2 separate regions of the Homo sapiens genome follow, and region 2 is linked to region 1. Evidence: promoter capture Hi-C in 16 types of primary human blood cells and fetal thymus (Javierre and others, 2016). All regions are on one chromosome and are shown on one strand. The core of a region is centred on a gene start or on the middle of the fragment in contact, and the rest is flanking DNA. Distances in the headings are between cores, read along the strand shown. Region 1 holds the start of PPP1R3C (protein phosphatase 1 regulatory subunit 3C). Region 2 overlaps HECTD2-AS1 (HECTD2 antisense RNA 1).

What was found. The method cuts DNA at HindIII sites, captures the fragments that hold promoters and counts their contacts. A CHiCAGO score of 5 or more calls a contact.
Region 2: a contact is called between a fragment that was not itself captured here and the fragment with the promoter of PPP1R3C in region 1, in 1 of 17 cell types (endothelial precursors). The highest score is 6.8, in endothelial precursors.

What each region holds. Positions count from the first base shown.
Region 1 is chr10:91,630,565-91,636,938 of GRCh38, reverse strand. PPP1R3C (protein phosphatase 1 regulatory subunit 3C) reads left to right here and starts at 3,868. Exons shown (of 2, transcript NM_005398.7): 1 at 3,868-3,983; 2 at 6,073-6,374. The coding sequence starts at 3,970. RefSeq lists enhancers at 3,236-3,735, 3,736-4,237 and a silencer at 3,762-3,901. The HindIII fragment of the contact is 3,050 bases long and covers 1,845-4,894 here.
Region 2 is chr10:91,547,249-91,553,373 of GRCh38, reverse strand. All of the region lies in intron 1 of HECTD2-AS1 (HECTD2 antisense RNA 1), which reads left to right. LOC105378433 (a long non-coding RNA gene) reads right to left here and starts at 43. Exons shown (of 3, transcript XR_007062244.1): 1 at 1-43. The HindIII fragment of the contact is 1,686 bases long and covers 3,142-4,827 here.

The sequences.
Region 1 (6,374 bases), core at 2,619-5,118:
CCATTTTCCTGGCCTTCCCAATTCCCGCTACCTCCTTGAAGCTTCCACAGATATTCCACAGCGAGCCTTCTCCTTTCGGGATCTCTTTGGCCTTCGGAGCTGCTTTTTGGTCTTGGTAGCTACCAGTGTGGTGCTTGTCTTTTTCAGAGCAACTCACATACTAGGAGCGTGGATTCTAGAGGGGCTTGAAACCTGATCCTGTCACCTACTAGCTGTGTGATCTTGGACAATTGGCACCTTCGATGTCTTCACGTTCCTCATCTGTGAAATGGGTTTCTACCTCACCGGATTCTTATAAAGATTACATGAGTTAATATTTCTAAGTGCTTAAAACAGTGCCGAGCCCAAAGTAAGCAGTATATGTTTTTCAGGTTGTATCCTTTTACTTAATATTGGAGTTCCTGTTGAATGTAGCTAAAGAAGGAAGAAGAAAATAGTGTACAAGAGCGCTTACTATTAACTGAGACAAATGAATTGGCACCTTTTTTGTTCTCCAAAATGCAAAACCTGCTCCTTTTAATAATAATTAAAAAAAAAAAAAACCAGTTCGCAACTTCCCTGACTCTTTCACTGAAACTCCGTAAGTGATCTTCAAGATCACTTACGAGGTTTCTCTCAGTTACCACTAACTGTGGTTAAAGTACTGACATTTTTATATTAATAACTATGAGGCTGAATTCTCAAGTACTTTCTTGATTAGGCACTGAAAAAAGACAAGCTTGCAGAAAATGAGTTGGCAACTTGGCAACCCCCCAGGGTGTTTTTCCAAAGGCAGCTCTCAGGCAACGTGTTGAGTGAATGCTGTAAGAGACCCACTTGTGTAAGCCCCACAATTATCAGCTCCTTGCTTAGTAGCTTCTTAAAATGTCTGCTGGGTATTCTATGAATTTGTTTTTCTGTAATAATGATTGTAACCTCCTCAAGGTCAAAGGATTATGACTGCTCAGACTTTGTAACCCCTGGCATGGAGCTGGAACTACTGCATAGCTCAATAATTTCCTGCTGATAGATTGATTGTTAAGATGGGTAGGACCAAGCAATGTTTAGATGCTGCCAAACCACAGTGGGAGAAATCCTACGAATAATAGTACAACTCCCCACGATTCCTTTCTACTCTGTCTTCATTGGTGCAACCTACAACTAAGAACACTGATTCCATCCTAGTTTCTCTCATCCAATAATGAAGGGGAGCAAAAGCTGGGAAGGAGACAGAAGTGAAAAGCCTGGATCATCCAATTTAGAGGTTTATTGAGTGAGTGTTGAGTCCTTTTAGGAGAAAGCATGGTCTCCCTGAATCTTCCATTTGAAGGAGCTGAAAGGGAGAGTGACTTCTATGGCATTAGTCAACACCAGGGGGCAGGAGAGAAAGCTGTATGAATGGAACAGGCTGAAAGGGTGGTGTGAGTAAATGGCACAAGCATGTGAAAATTTCCACCACGGTTCTTGGCACCTAGCAGTACGCTATATGTGTTAGTTGAATCCCAGAGTTTTAACGCCCTTGAAAAATTATTTCTTAATTAGGTCGTGTATGTTCATTGTAGAAAAATTAAGAAAAACAACAGAGCAGCAAAACAACGAAGACATTTTTAATCACTCATAATCTCACCATTCCAAAATGAACTGTTCACATTTCTGTAGAGCACATTCTGTTTTCTATGCATGGATACCTTTCCCTCAAAATGCGATCACCATAAATTGTTATTCATGTTTCTCCATAGTTTTAACTGGTAATATTTACTATTTAGCTCAACATATAATCATGGGTAGAGGAAAAGAATACCCAGGGTTCTAGTTTTGGCTCAGACCTAGCCAGCCCCTGGCAAGCAGCTTGACCTGTCTAAGCTTTCAGTTCCTCATCTGTGAAATAAAGAGTTTGATGCCTATCACCTCCTACCTCCATAATTCTAACCATTGATGGGTCATTAAAATAAGACAATATGGTGCAGCGGTTATTGCTCTGGTATCAGCCAGGCTCTAATCCCTGCTCTACCTGTGAGAACCTGGGCAGGTTTTTTTTTTGTTTTTTGTTTTCGAGATAGAGTCTCGCTCTGTTGCCCAGGCTGGAGTGCAGTGGTGCAATCTCAGCTCACTGCAACCTCCGCCTCCCGGGTTCAAGCGATTCTCCTGCCTCAGCCTCCAGAGTAGCTGAGAGTACAGGTGTGCACCACCATGCCCGGCTAATTTTTGTATTTTTAGTAGAGATAGGGTTTCACCATGTTGGCCAGGCTGGTCTTGAACTCCTGGCCTCAAGTGATCCACTGGGCAGATTTCCTGACCATTCAGTGTCTCCGTTTTCTTTTCTCTAAAATGGGATTAATAATTGGACATATCACATAGGGTTGTTGTGAGGATTGAATTGATAGCACATAGTGTTTGGCACAGAGTAAAGGCTCAACAAGCAGCAGCTATTCTCAATATTTTAGCTCAGGCACCAGGCGCCTTGAGGTGATAGAGTAAAAACTCTAGCTGAGAGATCAAGTAGAAACTTGGGAACTAGCCCGGGTGGAACACAGGCACTGGGCATCGTGCTGAGTCTGTTCATTGGCACCATCTTACTTCATCTTCAGAACGTTACTATCTCTGTTTTACACATGAGGAAACTGAGGTTAGAACTTGCCTAGATTCGTGTAGCTAGTAAGTGTCAATCCAAAGACCTTCCAGCTAGTTTTGGTTGAGCTAAAGGGGCTAGAAGACCTGCCATTAGTTAGATATTTCATTTCAAAAATAAAACCCAGGCATGAAGTCCCTTTCCCAGTGATATTCAGTGTGATTTTTTTCTTCACTCTAATAATTTTAACAATTCCACTGTTTGACAGTTGTTTAAAAGACATAGGAATTTTTGTATATTTTAATTGACTAATGGATAGCTCAATTAGGGGAGCAAAACTAGGATGTGGGTTTTATAAAAATAATTTAGACTTGACTTAGACATTTAATTTTACAGTTGTAAATGATGGTCTAAAAATTCTTCAAACTAATCAAAATAATGAAACTTCAGCGAAAGTGAGTGGCTCAGAAGGCCCATGAAACATACGGCGTGATTTTTTAAATTTTATTTTAACATTTTGATTTCCACACCACTGCCAAAGGACGTCAGAATTGAGTAAGGGGTTTGGGTTGACTGCTGCCTCTTGACCGGCTGTATGTGTGAAAAGGGTCATTTCACTTCCGGCTTTAGTGTTCCCCGCAGGGGAGAAAATTGAAGAATAGACAGAAATACGAAGTGTCTTTTAATTAAATGCCACCTTGGTGTTTTATGGGGCTCGTATGCTTTCCTAACAACATTTGTTAGATAAGTTGGTAATTCCCGGCAGCTGTCTACTGTGTGGTGCATCTGTGAACTCATACTAATCGAAAAGCATGCAGCCAGTTTGGGATCGCGCAGGCTAAGGTGAGGGAGAAATGCGGATACACCGGGTAATGAACGATATAAACATTTCAAATGCGATACACATTCGGTTTGAGCCACATCTTCTGTGTGCAGATTCACCCGCAGTGACCCACAAAGCTATTCCCAAGTAACAGCCGCCCCAAGCCTGAGGCACTGGCGCCCCGCCTGGGCGAGGCTGGCTGCGCTCTCTCTTGGCCGGCGCCCGCTGCATGCGGTACGTGCCTGCCCGGCCCCTAGCCCAGGGTTCCCGTTACGCGGCTGGTTCCAGCTGGCCGCGGAGTCCCAGAACCTCCCCGCGATGCCCAGATAGCTCTCTGCACGTCTCGCCCCGGGGCGATCACGTTGCCGGGGCGAGGGCTGGCGCCCCAGCTGGGCGCTGGTTGGTCGCGCCCTGGGGCTCGAGGCCCGGCGATTGGTCCCAGGGATCGGGTCACGTGCTTGGGAGCAGATAAGCGGCCTCTAGGCGCCGGGCCCTCAGTCTCTCCCAGCGACCGCCGCGGGGGCAAGGCCTGGAGCTGTGGTTCGAATTTGTGCAGGCAGCGGGTGCTGGCTTTTAGGGTCCGCCGCCTCTCTGCCTAATGAGCTGCACCAGGTAGGTTCGCTGCAACTCTGCGCGCTAGGAACACAGGGGAACGCGCAGCTGTGGGGAAGTTGGGGGGCGTTTCAGTTCTATCATCTCTGGAAATGGACACCCCAGGGGGAGGACAAGTGGACTGACTGCGTAGTTGAATCTGGCAACCGAGAGGCCTTGGAGGTGTAGAAATTTGGCTCTATTTCTTAAGCAGAGCCTATTTTAGTAATCAGCATCTTAAAGCAGAAATTATCTTAACGTGAATCAGCTTGAGTTAGGATTTTCTCATGGATGCGGCTGTTCTTTTGGTCCTGCACAAATGTCCCAAAGACTCGGGCAGCTGAAGTGGTGAGAACAGCACTCTGACATTGCTGGTTAGGTGGTTTAGCTTGGAGGAAAAAAATTACAGGACGACGTTTGCATTCATTCGTCCTTCTTATCACAGTTTGCCATAGCAAAATCTCAAGAGTTTGAGCAAACGATTACTTTTAACTCTTGTCCAGGACTTAAAGTTCCAAGGAAATCACCCAAACTAAAACTGTCTTTCTATAAATGCAAAAAGTAAAAAAAAAAAAACAAAAAAACCAAAAAAAACCTCCCATAAAACTACTTTAAATAGCTTCTCCAGACATAGCTTAGCAGAAGACTTCTCTAAAAATCCTGCCTATTAACTATTATTAGACCCACAAATATAGCTTTAGCTTTCATTTGTTTGTTCTAAGTTTGCAGATCTCCCAGAAAAACCCCAGAGCTAACACAGTAAATTCTGCGAGTGTTATTACACACTTTTGTGATAATGACCACTTGCATACATGTTTAGAGCTGCTGTGAGGAGAGTTACTAAAGCCAGACTGAGAAATGTCGTGTACAGTATACACACACCTCTTACTTGTAAGGCTAAGATAGGGAAAAAAATCTTAATACCATAAGCTTGGAAATATATGATGAGGGCTAAAGGTCAGAGAAAAGTCTTCTTTATAGATGCTTCTTGGTTTAATATTGCTGAGCATAGTCATGTTTAAAACTTTAAATGGTTTTATTGTCTTTCTACTTATAAATGTCTATTAGAAAATGCCAAAAAAGAACAAAAACGAAAATAGATAATCTATAATCCTATCACCCAGAAATAATAATTATTAAATTATTAGGAAAGGTGTATTTCCTATAGAGTTTTTCAATATTTATAAGTTTGTATATATAAAATGTATATTTTAAAACACTCCAACTTTCAGGTAATCAGTTTTTCCACTTAAATGTGGACTTGTCATGGGCATCTCTTTAGGTGAATTATCAATTATATAGTTTTTAAGTGCATATGAATTGTTGGCTTGTATTTCAGTGGTTATTTGTGAAAAATAAGAGCATGATAATCAAAGTGCAAAGATGATTCTTTGACTTCTTCTCTAGCCTTCTCACTCTCAAAACTGTTGCATGTTATTTTTTTTTTTTCAAGTGAATTACCTTACCAGAGAAGTGTCAATCAATTTAGCAGCAAAATAAGCCAACGTAGCCAGAGGGAGCAGAGGGTCTGGAACTGTGGCTCCTGAACCTGTCTGGTCATTAGAATCACCTGGGAAGCTTTAAGAACATACCCATCCCTTGGCCCTAGCCCCAGAAGTTCTGCCTCAGTAGTTCTGAGTCCCAGGAATTGGAAAGAAAGAAGAAAGAGAAAGAGAGAGAGAGAGGAAGAAAGGAAGGAAGGAGGGAAGGAGGAAAGGAGGAAAGACAAGAAAGAAAGAAAATGAATTCCCTAGACATAGTGACCAGACAGGTTTGAGGACCACTGGTCCAGAACAGAGCACACAGTTCTCAAGGCTGCCTTGGAGATAATCAAATCGAACCCTTTTATTTCTCAGATGGGGAAACTGAGACCCCCATCACCCTCTAAGTGTTTTAAGCAATTAATAGCCTTTAGCCGGCCAAGGGTAGAGGTAGACATAGAAGATCTGATCACTTAATACTGTTCTCTTTTACTACATATGATAGCACCTGCCTGATATCTAGTGCACTGGCTATAATTCAGTCAGCACAAAAATAGTACATATGTATTTGGCACTGGGGAAGAGCATTTCCGATCCAGGTGATAATCCCTCTTCTTTTTGCATTCCAGAATGATCCAGGTTTTAGATCCACGTCCTTTGACAAGTTCGGTCATGCCCGTGGATGTGGCCATGAGGCTTTGCTTGGCACATTCACCACCTGTGAAGAGTTTCCTGGGCCCGTACGATGAATTTCAACGACGACATTTTGTGAATAAATTAAAGCCCCTGAAATCATGTCTCAATATAAAACACAAAGCCAAATCACAGAATGACTGGAAGTGCTCACACAACCAAGCCAAGAAGCGCGTTGTGTTTGCTGACTCCAAGGGCCTCTCTCTCACTGCGATCCATGTCTTCTCCGACCTCCCAG
Region 2 (6,125 bases), core at 2,735-5,234, 84 kb after region 1:
GTCCTAGCTACTTGGGAGGCTGAGGCAGGAGAATCGCTTGAACCCTGGAGGCAGAGGTTGCAGTGAGCCGAGATCATGCCATCGCACTCCAGCCCAGGTGATAGTTTGAGACTCCATCTGAAAAACAAACAAAGAAATCTCAGCCTGTGCTGGTCAGTTGCATTCTACAGGCAGAACCAGTTTCCTCCCCCCACCCCATTATTCCTGAGATCTAGATTTTGCAGGCACCAGGATTTATTAATTTACTTGACCATGGCTCAGCCAACTGGTTAAGGCTGGTTTCTATGCTGATCTGGGCTTTCAAATTCCCATCTACAGCTGCAGGAGTCCATTGAGACCAACTAGGGGGTTAGAATGACTTTTTCCTAATGTCAGGTGCGTTCCTGCGTGTGTGGATGTGTGTGCACACACCCATGCACACACATGTAAGAAGACAGCTCTGCCCCCTTGAGGAGACACAGCAGGGCTGACAGAGGGTTGTGTGCCCTGTACCTGGCCGCAGGCCTGAGCATACCCGCTCGCTTTGCGATAGAAGTGGATTATGCTAGCAGGCTCATGTTCTTCCTGCCCTAAATTTCGCTTCATCCCCTCTCTCCACAAGCTGGTTAGCAGCAGCTTGGGAGTTTGAAGAGCAAGAGGAGCTCCCTATGTGATCTGAACCCTTCTTTTTGGACAGGTTCCTGGGGATGCAGCTGGAGCCGGGCTGGTGGAAGCAGCAGGCCGAAGTGTTTTAGAATCTTCCTGAACCCAGCAAAGGGATGGGTCTGTCCTCCAAGCATTGGGGCAGGGGTTGGGGGGTGGGCAGTGGGAAGAAACTGTGGCTGCTTTTCCTGCAGAAGCCAGAAAGTTCGAATAGGAGAAGGAGGGGTAGAAGGAGAGAGGGAAAGAGAAAGAGAAAGGGGTGGGTCAGGGGGTGTGGAAGGAGAAGGAAGAATGGGGAGGAGAAACAGACACTCCTTCATGGAGATTTCCAAAAGGCCTGGGAGGGACCTTGCCAAGCCACTTCCTAACCATCTTGGGGTGTCAGCGTGAGGCTTAATGGGAACAAGGAGCATCTGTATGTGTCCTCAGCCTGCACAAGGGGAAATTCTGGTCTCCTAGGAAGAAAGCCCTGGAGCCAAGCCTCTTGGCCTCTGTGTCCACTCTCTGCATTTACTCTTCGAGCTCCGCTGTTCCTACCTTCATTTATGTTTCCGCAGTCTGTCCATCTTCGTTCTCGCTGACTCTCCTCTCCCGCCTCCAGTTGAAACTCAGGCTTCTGTTTCAGGGTTGGGGGTTCCTAGAGATTCTCCTTGTCTCTAGCTCCCCCTGCCCACCTCAGCGGGACCAAGGCCACACTACTGCCCAAGAGCCTGCATCAACTGCCAGTAGATGGCAGTCCTCATCAAATTCAAACTCCTCGCTCTGCCCTTCATCTGTTGTCAAGATCTTCTCTCCCTGGTCTTGTCCTATTCTCTGACCAGGCTTCCCTCTCCTTCCCCATGGAAGCCCCCAGCCAGTCTCCCTGGTGAGCCCTGAACATTCAGAGTTCATCTCTGCCTCTGTGCCTTGCTTTGCTGCCCAGGTCAGTTCCCACTCCCCAGCATTAGTCTAAAGCCAACTCATCTTCAAGTCCTGTCCCCAGGAAATGTCCCTGGTCACTTCAGCCTGACTACATCATTCCTTAATTCCCACTGCATGTACAGTTCAAAGCACCCACAGTTTTGCTTCTCACTGTTTTCGGTCTAGCTATATGTAGTCTCTATAAGGGCATGAACCATGCCTTTCACTTTCTTCGATCTCTGTCTCAGCCCCAGAACCCAGAAATATGATTATTGATTGATTAAAAATGGGCAAATTATAGCCAAAGAGATTCAGGGTAGGGAAAGTGCTTGAACAGGCCAGATATTCCTCCAAGGTCTTCTTGAGCAAAATGGCATTCTCTGGGGCTATTTTCCATGTTTGGCCATGCTGTGTTTTGCTAATACTATGGCAAACACTTGGGTGTTCAGTTGCATGGAGACGTTTGCATTTTCCCTTTCCACAGGCAGGCAGATGATTATTCAGGATGGGAAAACATCAGCATGGAAACAGATTTGTGGCTCAGCTCTCCTGCTCATTTTCTAATGTAAGAACAAATCAGTTGAGGCTGGGCACCATGGCTCATACCTGTAATCCCAGCACTTTGGGAGGCAAAGGCGGGTGGATCACTAAGCTCAGGAGTTTGAGACCAGCCTGGGCAACATGGTGAAACCCCGTCTCTACTAAAAGTACAAAAATTAACTGGGTGTGATGGTGTGTGCCTGTAGTCCCAGCTACTTGAGAGGCTGTGGTGGGAGGATGGGAGAATCACTTGAACCTGGTAGGCGGAGGTTGGAGTGCACCGAGATTGCACCACTGCGCTCCAGCCTGGGTGACAACAGAGTGAGACTTTGTCTCAAAATGAAACAAACAAAAAAAAGAACCAATCACTAAATTGATCAGGACTCCCTCCTCTCAAGACAATCCACTGAGCCTCCAGTATTTACAAACACAGGAGCATTCACCCTTCTTCAGAGGGCAAGCTTACTGGCCGGAGGCATCATGCTGGCCATCCTGCCACTGGCATTTGGAATTGTCCTCCCCATACTTTCTCTCCATGGTATTACAGTCTCTTTTTCCCACAGAATAAGAGGTCAAGGAGGGTAGGTTTGAATGAGATTATCAGTAAAATGTTTTACCATTTGGATTTCTGTTCAAATTGTAATAAGCATCTTTATCACAATGAGTCAGAGAATCTGGTTGCAAGTGACAAAACCCCTACAGATGTCTTTAGGTGTCCTCATTGTTCTGATAAGTACATCTTTCAGTGAAATACCAATTTGTGTGGCAGACACTGTGTCACTTTCCACAGCCATACCACTCTTCCTCTCCACTGACAGAACCCCAAGGTGACCAGTTCCCAGAAGATGAATCATGCTTGGTCTAAGACCATGGTGTCTGTCTGCGTCAGGGTCCCCAAGATCAACCCAAGGCCAGTGATTTGCTAGGAAGACTCACAGGACTCAGCATATAGTCACACTCATGGCTAAGATTTATTACAATACAATGATACACTCAAAGCAAAATCAGCAAAGGGGAAACGTGCATGGAGCAAGGTCTACAGGAAATCAGACACAAGCTTCTAAGAGTTCTCTCCTATTGGAGTCATGCAGGCCACGCTTCATTTCTCCAGGGAGGTGTGACAGTACATGTGAAATGTTGCCTCTCAGTGAAGCTCATTAGAGACTCAGTGCCCAGGGTTTCTAACGGGGGCTGGTCACACAGGCACCCTTTACCTAGTATATACCAACATTCCAGACCTCCAGAAAAGACAAGCAGGTGTTCAGCACATACCATATTGTTTGCATGCACAGTTTCAGCACAGTGAACCATGGTTATCAGTTTTGACAATAGTGGGGCCCCTCCCAAAATCCAAGTTCCCAGATGCCAACCAAAGGCCAACCTCGTAAGCAGGCCTTCCTAAGAATAGCTGTCTCAGGCCTATTATGTTAACTCTTTTCTGCATACAATCAATGCTTTTTTTTTTTTTTGATACAGAGTCTTGCTCTGTTGCCCAGCCTGGAGTTCAGTGGCATGATCTTGGCTCACTGCAACCTCCACCTCCCGGGTTCAACTGATTCTTGTGCCTCAGCCTCCTAAGTAGCTGGGATTACAGGTGTGTGCCACCATACTTGTCCAATTTTTGTATTTTTTTGTAGAGATGGGTTTCGCCATGTTGGCTAGGCTGGTCTTGAACTCGTGACCTCAAGTGATTCACCCACCTTGGCCTCCCAAAGTCCTGGGATTACAGGTGTAATCCCAGTGCCTGGCCTGCATACAATCAATTTTATGTCTGACACTTGCTTACTCAGCCTCCCTTGCATCTATGAGTGGCCACATGACTCAGTCGTAGCCAATAAATTCCAAGGGGAAAGTGTTGTGATAATATCTGGAATCCTGGCAGTCATCTTATGACAAGTGCAAGGACAAAACCCCAATATATCAAAGGCAGCATAGGGAAAGGTGAAAAGAAATGGGGTCTTTGGTAATACCTTTAAGTCAATGCACCATTCCAGGGACAAAATATTGCCACACTTTTTTTTTTTGGTTGTTGTTATGTGAGATAATTAAATGTATTTGTTGCTTGAGTAATTTTGAGTGGGGTTAAGTTGAATGCAGGTCAGATGCGCTCCTGACATAATGTGTTCCTCTCTATTATGGACTGCCTTGTGGCCCCTGCCCCCAAAATTGGTATGTTGAAGCCCTAACTTCCAATATCTCTGAATGTGACTGTGTTTGGAGATCAGGCCTTTGAAGAGGTGATTAAGTTAAAATGAGGCTGTTGGGGTAGGGCTCTACTCCAATCTGACTAGTGTCCTTATAAGGAGAGAAAATTGGGAGTCACACATGTGCATGCTCAGAACAAAGACCCTGTGAGGGCACGGCAACAAGAAGGCCACCTACAAGCCAAGGCAAGAGACTCATTAAAAACCAAACCTGCCAACACCTTCGTCTTAGACTTCTCACCTCCAGAACTGTAAGAAAATCAACTTCTGTTGTTTAAGACACCCAGTTTGTGGCATTCTATTTTGTGAATTCTAGCAACCTAATGTGCTTTCCATGTGTAGATATGGAAAGGGCAAGCCTGGCAAATTATAACTGACAAAAGTGGAAACACACATGAAATGGTCAGATCTGGTGGTCACATACAACACCCAGGCAAGAAAAGGATCCAGGCGGGGGAGCCAAGAGAATGGACTGGCCAGATGCCCCCACAGGAGAGCCGGCTGCACCCACTCAATCTCTCATCTTCCAGAGGCTAAAGCTTCTACACAACTGTACTAATTATAATGAGATAGTAAAGAGGCAGCAGGTTCAGGGGTGTCCAGTCTTTTGGTTTCCCTGAGCCACATTGGAAAAAGAATTGTCTTGGGACACACATAAAATACACGAACGATAACTGATGAGCTAAAAAAAAATTGTCAAAAATATCTCTTAATGTTTTCAGAAAGTTTACATTCAAAGCTGTCCTGGGCTGCATGCAGCCTGCAGGCTGTGGACTGGACAAGCGTGAGGTAAATGGTAAATGGAGATAGGATATCTGGTGACCATAGTTAATGCACAAAAGAGAGAATGGGGAGGCCCTAGTGAAGGGACAAATGCAGAGAGAAGAAAAAGTCTGTATTCCTGGAAATGTTGATAAATCAGATTTCTCTTTGTGTCACTGGGGCTTGGATAAGCCACAGCAGGTTATGGGCTTTCTGTGGAGGCACGGTTCTAAGGTAAGAATCAAGTGACAGCAGTTACTACTGTGTGGCTTTTGACTCATTACTAGGGAAGATGGCCAATTTCATGTGGGCTGCCTTGGATATGTCCTTCTGGTCAGACCTGAGTTGGTCCTACTAATTTGGGGCTTTTTGAAGGACACTATCTGGTCCCACATGTTGGCTAAGGTGTGAGTGAGGCAGAGTAGCCACAAAACCAACTCAGATTAATTGAAGCAAAAAAGAGGAATTTATTGGCTTATGTAACTAGCAAGTCGAGTTTCACTGGATCAAGGGGCTCATCTGGGTTGGTTTTCTTCCTCTGCCTCTCTGTTCGTCTTTCCTCTATATGGCTTCACTCCTTTGACTGGCTCTCCCTCCATGACTGTCAAGAAAGCTGCTGGTACTCCTGCCAAAAGTGTGTAAATGGAATCTAACTATGAGGAAGAACCAACAAACCTACACCAAGAAACATTTTACAAAACAACTGGCCTATCTTTTTTTTTAAAAAAGTCAATGTCATAAAAGACATAGAAAGGCTAAAGTGCTCTTCAGTTAAATAAGACTAAAGAGATATGAAAACTAAATGCAATATGCCATCCTGGATCCTGGATGAGACAGATGGGAAAAATCCATTATAACAGACATTATTAAGACAATTAGTAGAACTTTAAAATGCACTGTGTATTAGATAAGAAGATTGTTTCAATGTCAAATTTGCTGAATTTGGTCATTGTATTGTGATTATGTAAAAGAGTATCCTTGTTCCTAAGAGGTAAATGCAAAGTATTTAAGGATAAAGGATCATGATGTCTACAATATGCTCTCAAATAGCTCAGTCATGACAACAAAAATCCTATA